3 separate regions of the Homo sapiens genome follow, and all the other regions are linked to region 1. Evidence: promoter capture Hi-C in 16 types of primary human blood cells and fetal thymus (Javierre and others, 2016). All regions are on one chromosome and are shown on one strand. The core of a region is centred on a gene start or on the middle of the fragment in contact, and the rest is flanking DNA. Distances in the headings are between cores, read along the strand shown.

Region 1 (3,187 bases), core at 499-2,998:
CAGCCACATCAGCTTTCATTCATTGTTCAACAAATATTGATTTGCTTGTCTTGTGTTAGAGAGTCATTGAGGATACATTAGCGACCAAACAAAACACAGTTATTCTACTCACAGAACTTAGATTTTACAGGGTGGGGGAACAACAACAATTGCTAGTTGTAAAAAGTATAAAAATGAAATTGAACCTGCAAATAAAAAAAGAGTGCTCACTTGAGATACAGTAGCCAGGAAAGTCTTCTTTAAGAAGGTACTATTTTAGACGTAACCTAAATGATGAAGGGAAGTGCCACGTGTTGAATGGAGAAGAGAGAATTTAGGTACAGGGAACAACCCATGCAAAGGTTCATACATGCTGGAAAGAAGTTGGTGTTTGAGGTATCCAGAGCAGATCAACTTACTGTACAGTTAGTGGGGAGTGAGGTCGGCTGACACTTGATTGTGCAGGACCTGGGAGGCCATGGTAAAGATCAGAATTCTATTCCTTTTCCCCCCTCCTCTTTTTATTTTATAAAATCTGTTATTTTAGAAAGTTGCAAGACTGGTACGATGTACACCATTATACCCTTCAACTAGATTCACCAATTACTAATATTTTGCCACATTTGCTTTCTCTATTTTTTTGCCATATCTTTTGAAGGTAAGCCGCAAACACTGTGACACTTTGCTGCTAATTACTTTAGCAAGCGCCTTCCAAAAACAAAGGCATTCTTCCACTTAATCACAAATTAATTCTCACATGCAATCAATTTAAAACTGATTCAATATCATCTAATATGTAGTTCATATTTAAATTTCCCCAGTTGTCCACAAATGTCTTTCGAAGTTTTTTTTTTTTTTTAAAAACTATGAACCAGCCAAGATTCACAAATTTCATTTGGTTTCTTTTGACTCTCGACTAAAGTAATTTTCCACTTCGTTTTTTTCTTTTTCCTGTCATGACACTGACATTTTTGAAGAGCCTAGGCCTGTTGTCTTGTAGAATATTCTACATTGTTTTTTTCTGATTGTTTCCTCATGATTAATGTCAAACATTTCTAGCACAAATACTATCGGGTGATATTAGCGATGCTAAGTATCTTCACTTGGTTAAGGTATGTCTAATAAATCTCTTCAGTGTAAAATTCTATTTTCCCTTTATAATAAGAAATGATCTGTAGGGTGATTCTTTGAGATACTAACATCCTCTTCCCTACAACCTTTCAGTTAATTGTTTGTTTTAGCATCTTGCATTCATTAGTTTTAGCATTCATAAGCTTACCTATATCAATTTTTAGACTGGCAGTTGCACAATGGGGATGCAGCGAGGGAAGTGACCCTCCGGATCCCGGGATGCCGAGCCTTTTTCTGCCCCGTAGGGACAGGACTGGGAAGTGGCTAGCCCGCCATTCCTCGGCCCGTCCTTAGGGGAGTCGCAGGACTAAGTGCAGTGGCAGTGGCCTCACCTCGGGCCTTCGCCACATCTTTATTGCCTCAAGGACAGAATTGGAGATCGGTGTCCCAGTCAACAGCGTGGTACTTATGACAGCCGCGAGAAAGCGCACTACTAAAGCCCGGCTAGCAGAGCTGGGAGGCAAACCAGACCGTCAGCACCAGGGCGGCCCACGCCTGCTTCCGCCCATTGGCTGCCCGCGTTTCAAGACCCGCCCCCATATTGGAGAGCTTCTTCCGGTAGCCACTGGAAAGCCCGCAGCGCGAGCCGGCTACGCTCCCTGGCGGAGCTCTGGACGCCCCACCTACTCCCAGCGTTCAGTGCGGTGCCCTGGCCGCCATTGTTTGAATTTGAAAACGGTAACATCGCAGTGCTGCTCGCGGGTCTGGCTAGTCAGGCGAAGTTTGCAGGTGAGGAGGTGACCCGCGGGAATGTGTGGGGAAGGAGGTGGGTGACTGCGCATGTATGGGGCCTAAGGTGGGGAAACGGCTTTGGCAATGTGGACATGTTCCGACAGGGCTCATACCCCAGTGGAGGTTACTGTCAGGAACTGGGTTGCGGAGCGATGCGAACACGGGGTACGCAGCGAGGAATGAGTCATACTAATTCGGTTACGGTTTAAATCTCGCCTCCACTGCTAATTAGCTGAGTGACGCAAGACAATTCATTTAATCTCTCTCTGTACCTTAGTTTTCTTATCAGTTAAAAGGCTGCAATGAAGTGTCTATTTCTTTCGGCTTTTGTGAAGATTAAATGGTAATGTGTAAAGTTATTAGTGCTGGCACACAGTAGGTACTAAATGTTTGCAGTTATTAATATTATTATTGTTGTTGCTTCTGTTGTTGTTGAGGAACAGGCCTGTTTTGCCACACCTAGTTTTCTGAAGCTCTGAGGTGAGCAGTTTGCTCGGCTGGTAGGTAACACGGCCTTTTTGCGGGGGGAGCCCTGTGGTAGCCTCTGTGCACTTATTTCCAGACTACTCCTACTGGTCCTTGGGGCTTGCCCTTCTAGGGTTTTGCAGTGCCAGGCTGAAGAGTTTGTGGCACAGTGACTGCTGTCATTCCCCAGTTTAGAAGGCTTTCTCCATCTCGATTCGCTCGCTGGTTCAGTGATGCATGTCTGGCACAGTTCTCTTATATTTCTTGCTAAACTACTAGTTTACAGAAGTTCACGCCTTATGGGTTAGGTAGTGTAACAGTGTATTTATCTTACATGTCCAAGACTCCAGATTTTAAATTGTAAAAATAACATAAAATACTCATCGATTAGTTGTGAAGACTTTTTTTGAGGCTTTGTGTTGTAGACCACATTCAGAAACCTCATTCAGCAACAGATTCTGCTATTTTTCACCAAAGTCTCCAATTGTGGATTCTTATTGGAGAGAGGGTAAATATGCAGTTTTCCAGTCAGAGCAGCCTTTTGAAATGAAAAATGAGGTCTTGGAGCCTGCTGTCACGAAAGATAATATTACAGACTAGGACCGACTTTTTTTTTTTTTTTTGGAATAGTATTTTCTTTATAACCATTATTTTAAGTCATTAGGTAGTCTTTATCCCTGCATAAGTCGCTGAATTTGTTATAGGGGATACAGAGTGGTATAAGGCAAGGTTCTTGCCATCAAGAAGTTTCCAGTTTAGTTGGGAAGGCCACGTATAAGTAGAAGTCATCTAAAATCGCAAGAAGTTACAGTAAGTCTGAACACTTTTAGAAATGCTAGGAAGTAGTTTGTTCATTGAAAAATGAGCATATGAACAAATA
Region 2 (2,883 bases), core at 54-2,553, 1.2 Mb after region 1:
ATTTGAGTGTTGATCTGTCTTTCATAAAGCTGTACCTTGACATGTAAGGGGTCAGTAGTAGGGAGTGAGGAGGGATGTGAAGAGAGAATCAGTGAAAATGAAGTAGGCCAGTGCATGCTTATCTCTGACAGTTCTCTTTATTTCCTGTGAAGGCGATTGACCGAGGCCTGGCTTTTGAACTTGTCTATAGCCCTGCTATCAAAGACTCCACAATGAGAAGGTATACAATTTCCAGTGCCCTCAATTTGATGCAAATCTGCAAAGGAAAGGTATGGTTCTATAATTTTAGGATGTTTTTCGCATCTGGCAGTTTATTATTAGTAGTACACTGGAATTGTCAAACTGACTCCTTTTCCTTAAAGCAGAATGTTCTCATAGCATAGGAACAAATTCTGCCATTTCAGTGAGCTCTGCAAATTTTAAGGGAAAGAAAAATACCAAGGGAAGAATAATGTAAGGGAGAAAAAGATGTGTTGGAAGCCATATCTTTTGATAAAAATTTGCAATTTACATACTGTGAAAGAAAAGTCTAGAATAACAATGGTCCTCACTGAGTTGAATTAAGATATGTGACCTTTTCATCTTGTTTTTTAAACTTAATTCACCTTTACTAAGATCTGTTAGGAAAACATATTTTGTTTTTTATTACAGATTGCCTTTAGTTTGACATGAAGTCTTTTCATTTTTTTCACCTTAATTATTTACCTTATCTTTAAAAGAAGTTGGTATTTGAGCCTTAAATGTTAAAATATGATTACTGGCTATTTATATTATGAAACTCCTTTTTTTACATTTATCTAAGATTAATATTAGTCACTTTCTATTTTGTAGAATGTAATTATATCTAGTGCTGCAGAAAGGGTAAGTCTAGCATGAAGTACTTTGTTTTCATCTTTCAGGTTATAAAACTTTTCAGTTTCTAGGGGATAAATTAAAATAGTAAATGAATATTTGTTGCATTTTTTTCTATTTTAACTGCATTTGCTCATTGTAATTGCTAAATAGTAAAATTTATCCCCACTTTCTTTAGGCTTCAACTTTTGTTTATATAATCAGTTTTTCTTTTATACTGTTACAAAATGCCTTTCAAGCTTCTCTTATATTTTCAAAAGCTATGAAACCCATCAAAATTATAAGGACTTAAATTTATGTAATTTTTTTATTTTTGGATACTTAAATTTTCTATTAATTTGCTATAAGTCATTGAAATGTTATAAATAATTTTCTCATATCTACTCTTTGTTCATTTTATTTCAGCCTTTAGAAATAAGAGGGCCATATGACGTGGCAAATCTGTATCCTTTTCTGAGTAAAAAGTTGTTGACATTGTCTTTCAGGAAATTTTGAATTTGAAGTCGTATTATAGTTGAACATGTATTTTTCTCAACCTTTTACTGTAAGTTTACCAATTAATAACTTCAAAAATAAATTATATAACATTATAGAGAGCTTTATGCTTCTGTTTTTTAATTAATCATGAGATAGAAAAGAGGGAATGAGGGACTTCATATGATAAAAGCTTAGAGTTAAATGAGTCTTTTCTCAGATGCATGTTCCAGTTGGACTAAGAACTGCTGTTGAATTAATTAGCCTCTCAAGATGACCAGGTTAGCTGGCACTTTCTGTTATGTTTGTGTTAGTCTCGTGTCCTTGGGTGACTCTGGGTTGAAATCTTTAATGCTCCCCCAAGAGGCTTGCTGTTTGGGCTCTCTGAAAGTGACGCCAAGGCTGCGGTGTCCACCAACTGCCGAGCAGCGCTTCTCCATGGAGGTAAGCAAGTTCTTCCAGTACAAACTGAATGGTCATGTTAAAAGCAAGTCATTTTTACAGCCATACCTATTTTTATTGCCCTACCCTACAGAGTTCCTTTGGGATCATCTTTTCTCAACCTGTTCTAAACACAGTCATCAGTGTTTTCTCACCCTCACTTCAGGCTTTACTTTCTAAAGTTTGTAGAATGAATATAGTTTTCATTACAGAAATAAGTATTGAATAGTTCTTCCAGCTATACATGTGTGCTCCTGCCGACATTTTGATAGGCTTCTAATCTCCCTTCCTTCTTCTCCCTCACCAGAAGGCCATGCTTTCCCTGTTGAAAATCTCTGTTTTAGAGAACGGATATGTTAAAAATATGTGTTAAACTATTTATTAGGAAAACAAAACCAGCAAATACATTTTTAAAAATCCAACTAACAAAACATAGACTGTAACTTTTACATTTATTATAACTCAGAATGTTTCTTTTCTCATGTTTGCTTACATGGTCAAGTTGTGTCCAGACTGTACCTTTTTTATTTTTTTTTCTTTTTCTAAATAGAGACAGAGTCTCACTATGTTGCCCAGGCTGGTCTTGAACTCCTGGGCTCAAGCAATCCTCCTACCTCAGCCTCCCAAAGTGCTAGGATTACAGACATGAGCCACCATGCCCGGCCAGACTGTACATTTTTTACTCACATTTTGTATATGTACCTTTTCACTGACTGAGTTTCCTGCTCATCAGATGTTAAAAATTGAAAGTATGCTGAAACTTTGGAAAATGAAAGTGAAATTTTATTAAAACAATTTAAGCTTTTGATCACTGTTTTGTCTTCGTTATCTTTATAATTCTTAGGACTAGTTGTAGTGGTTAAGAAGCAATTTCATTGATATCACCCAAGTGAATTTTAAACTTCAAAGTAGATTGCTACATATAGACTGAGTTATTTGTCATATGAATAGCTAGGTTATTGAGGGCTTGTGTGTTGGGCTTTATTGATCTGATTTCCACTTGAGAGAACTGCTTATGTATTGGCTTGCCGTAAATTAGATGATTTTGCTTTTAGTTTCAACATTTTTAGTTTGAGATTTTTGTATTATGTAGCCTAGAACTCATCACATAAGCTT
Region 3 (3,088 bases), core at 493-2,992, 1.9 Mb before region 1:
ATACGATGATAGTGCTGTATGCAACTAAGAAACATCCTAAAACACTATAACCTAGAGTTATTTGTTAGGCAAATATGGTATCAGGTCGTTTCATTTTAAGTTCTCCATTTCCGAGTGGAAAACCGTGAAATCGTACTACCTCATCTATGAGCAATTTATTGACATGTATAGCATTCATAGCATAGCATTCACTGTAGTATTTCTCTCCTAATTCATTGCAGTATTTCACAAATCGTTTCTCAAACTCAAAAGTCCCAGTTTTGCAGGCATAAAGGCCCTACGAATACAGCCTATGACAATGAAGGCCTGCCAATCTTCACAAAGAGGGCAGGTTATTATTAACATCACCATCTTTTGTGAAAGCGTGCCCGGCCCTGAAGAACCACCTTCGATTTTGCACAAGGTGGTGGCCGCGCCTGTGCGACAATCAGACCTGGTTCATTCCAGCCGCCTTCGTCTAGGTTCGCCTGGTTCTGAAGTCTTCCGGGACGACCTCAAACCCCCACAGTGACCAGGATGCCGACAAAGATTCCCTCGGGAATGGCACGAGTCTTGGGGAAGAGCTAAGCAGACCCTAAGGGCCCAGGCCGGGCCGGACGCCAAGGCGAGGCCCGGGACGCCCTTGGAGGTTAATCCTCTAGATACTAAGGGCTGCGGGGCGCTTGGGGGCGGCACTGAGGTAGGGCGTGGGAGAAGACCGGGGTGACCTTTCCTCCGGGGGTTCCCAGGTCCGAGACGGTCCTTAAAGGACCTCAGAAGGATACGACAACCATCCCATGAGGCCCCACGGGAACCAGCTACTCACCCAGGGGCAGAAACAGCAAGAGCAAGTGCCCTCAGCCGGCCTCACACAGGAAGGAAACGCAACCTGGGAGAGAACGCTTCCGGCGGGAGGCGCGGCGCACTCCCTCCCACGGAGCATGCGCGACCCGCGGTCGCCGGCGCGGAGGGGGCGTGCTCCCAGGCTTAGAAACAGTGAGGGAGAGCAAATTCGCGCACCTGATGTCTGCTTAAGCTACCTGCTAGACTGAGACTTTCTGCGAAGCCGGCGTGTCTGCGAGCAGCACTCGCTAAGGCTCTGCGTTTAACAGACACTACCTTTGGGAAGGCGCTTATCACAAAAAGTCCCTGCCCTTCTCGCGGGCTCGGGGCGCAACCCTGACAAATCGGGCAGCCTTCTTGAGAGTGCAGAAATGCTCTGCGTACCCAGCAAATACATTCTCTCCTTCCCACCACTCTGTGCAAACCCTCACGCCGCGGCTTTGTGTCTGTACTTTAGCCAAAACGCAGAAGCTTATGGCCACCCTCCACTCCTCACCCCTCATCCCTCACCACCTGCCTTTCAATTCTCGGGTGAGCTCACCCTTCTCCCCCATCTCTGTGCTGACAAACACCTCGGGGTGGCGCCTGACAATCTTTCCGCGAAAAGATTTAGCAGCCCACGCCACCAGACTCGGTAGTTAGGACGGAATAGGGCATCTGGTAACAGATTTTGCATTTTGGTGATTTCCCTTTTTCTTTCACCCCTTTTCCTTTCCAGAACGAGCGACGTGACACAAGAGGTCCCAAGGGAGCAAACCTGAAAGCCAGAGCCTCCTGAATACACAAACTGCCGGTGGGCCAGATGACATTAGACACTCCTGAGATACGAGAAGCATCACTTCCTTCAGACAGAGTCGGTGAGACTATGATGTAATGAGAGTTCTCCCTGTGTTCCTCAGGAAGGCAGCTTGTGCCTTTCTACTTGAGGCATCATCTTTGATGGCTAAAGAATTCTGCAGCTTGGCCAGCGCGGTGGCTTACGCCTGTAATCCCAACACTTTGGGAGGCCGAAGCGAGAGGATCACTTGAGGTCAGGAATTCGAGACCAGCCTGGACAACATAATGAGAAATCGTCTCTACAAAAAAAAAAAAAAAAAAAAAAAAAAAACCACCTAAAAATTAGCTGGATTTGGTGGCGCATGTCTGTAGTCCCAGCTACTTGGGAGGCTGAGGTGGGAGAATCGCTTGAGCGTGGGAGATCACGGCTGCAGTGATCAAGCCACTCCACTCCAGCCTGGGCGACAGAGCAAGCCCCTGTCTCAATAATAATAACAATTTTGCAGCCTGATTGTTAACGAATGTTACTAGTTACAAACTTGTAATAATGTGGTGAAGATAATACCTAGTTAATGTCTGCTGGGGTGGGGCAATAAGCTTCTATGTGCTTTACATGCATAACCTAAATATCTCCCCCAAAATCCTCTAAAATAGCTATCATTTTCTCCGTTTTTACAAATGAGCAAATTTTAAAGCTTAAACCTTAGAGAAACTTTTCTAAGTTCATATACTTGGGAAATAAAGGCAACAATTTCATTGGAACATAGGTCTGTCTAATTCATACCTTGTACTTTACGTTTTCTCTTTGAGATGGTAATTTAATACCAGCTAAACTTTAAAATCTAGTTGAAAGTAAGACCATGAAATGCCAAAATCACAAGGCTTTAAAGGATGGGATGAAAGGGATGCATGAATGTTGAAAACTATGATTAAGTTCATGGACAGGAATCAGAATGGAATTGAATACACCCGTGCCTGTTTAGTATTTAAGGCTTTATATACGTGCATGCCTACATTCCTAATTTAAAAAAAAAATGGATGTGAAGCTAGGTTTGGGATTACTAGACTATTTAGAGAGATAGACCTTTGAGAAGAACGGAAAGATTATGAGACGAGGACAATGTTCATTAAAAACAAACAACAACAACAACAACAAAAAACAGAGGCTATCAGTGCTCAGCAGACTTTCAAGAGACTCTCCACTGGGTCCTTGGATGATCCCAAGCTGAATCATTGCTTGGGAGGCTCATGGACACATGGTTTGGCAGGGCTAAAAGGGGGAGGGTCACTAAAGGCAAGAAACAGGTTTTGTGCCCCAATAGGGTAATTATATCCACTGGTAAGGAAAATGAGCTGAGAAATTCAAGATAGTAATGGATTTTCATTCATTTACTGAGTGAAATTGGTTCAACTAAGAGCCTCACCTGCCCTCTTCTAAGGACCAGGGTGACCAGCCTACCCAGTTTCAGTTTGCATGAGACTAAAAGGT

The links. Contacts are between HindIII fragments. The CHiCAGO score rates a contact against its expected background, and 5 or more counts as called.
Region 2: a fragment that was not itself captured here is called in contact with the fragment with the promoter of KIF20B in region 1 in 1 of 17 cell types (total CD8 T cells); the score reaches 5.0 in total CD8 T cells.
Region 3: a contact is called between a fragment that was not itself captured here and the fragment with the promoter of KIF20B in region 1, in 1 of 17 cell types (activated CD4 T cells). The highest score is 5.2, in activated CD4 T cells.

What each region holds. Positions count from the first base shown.
Region 1 is chr10:89,699,842-89,703,028 of GRCh38, forward strand. It overlaps KIF20B (kinesin family member 20B), which reads left to right and starts at 1,749. Exons shown (of 33, transcript NM_001284259.2): 1 at 1,749-1,839. RefSeq lists a silencer at 1,271-1,350 and enhancers at 1,395-1,910, 1,911-2,427. The HindIII fragment of the contact is 4,302 bases long and covers 1,252-3,187 here.
Region 2 is chr10:90,894,623-90,897,505 of GRCh38, forward strand. RPP30 (ribonuclease P/MRP subunit p30) reads left to right here. Exons shown (of 11, transcript NM_006413.5): 7 at 153-269; 8 at 832-861; 9 at 1,258-1,295; 10 at 1,691-1,770. Among named protein-coding and RNA genes, the nearest start is that of RPP30, 24 kb to the left of the region's middle. The HindIII fragment of the contact is 428 bases long and covers 1,090-1,517 here.
Region 3 is chr10:87,817,362-87,820,449 of GRCh38, forward strand. It overlaps ATAD1 (ATPase family AAA domain containing 1), which reads right to left and starts at 865. Exons shown (of 10, transcript NM_001321967.2): 1 at 806-865. It also overlaps the pseudogene CFL1P1. RefSeq lists a silencer at 963-1,012. The HindIII fragment of the contact is 903 bases long and covers 1,292-2,194 here.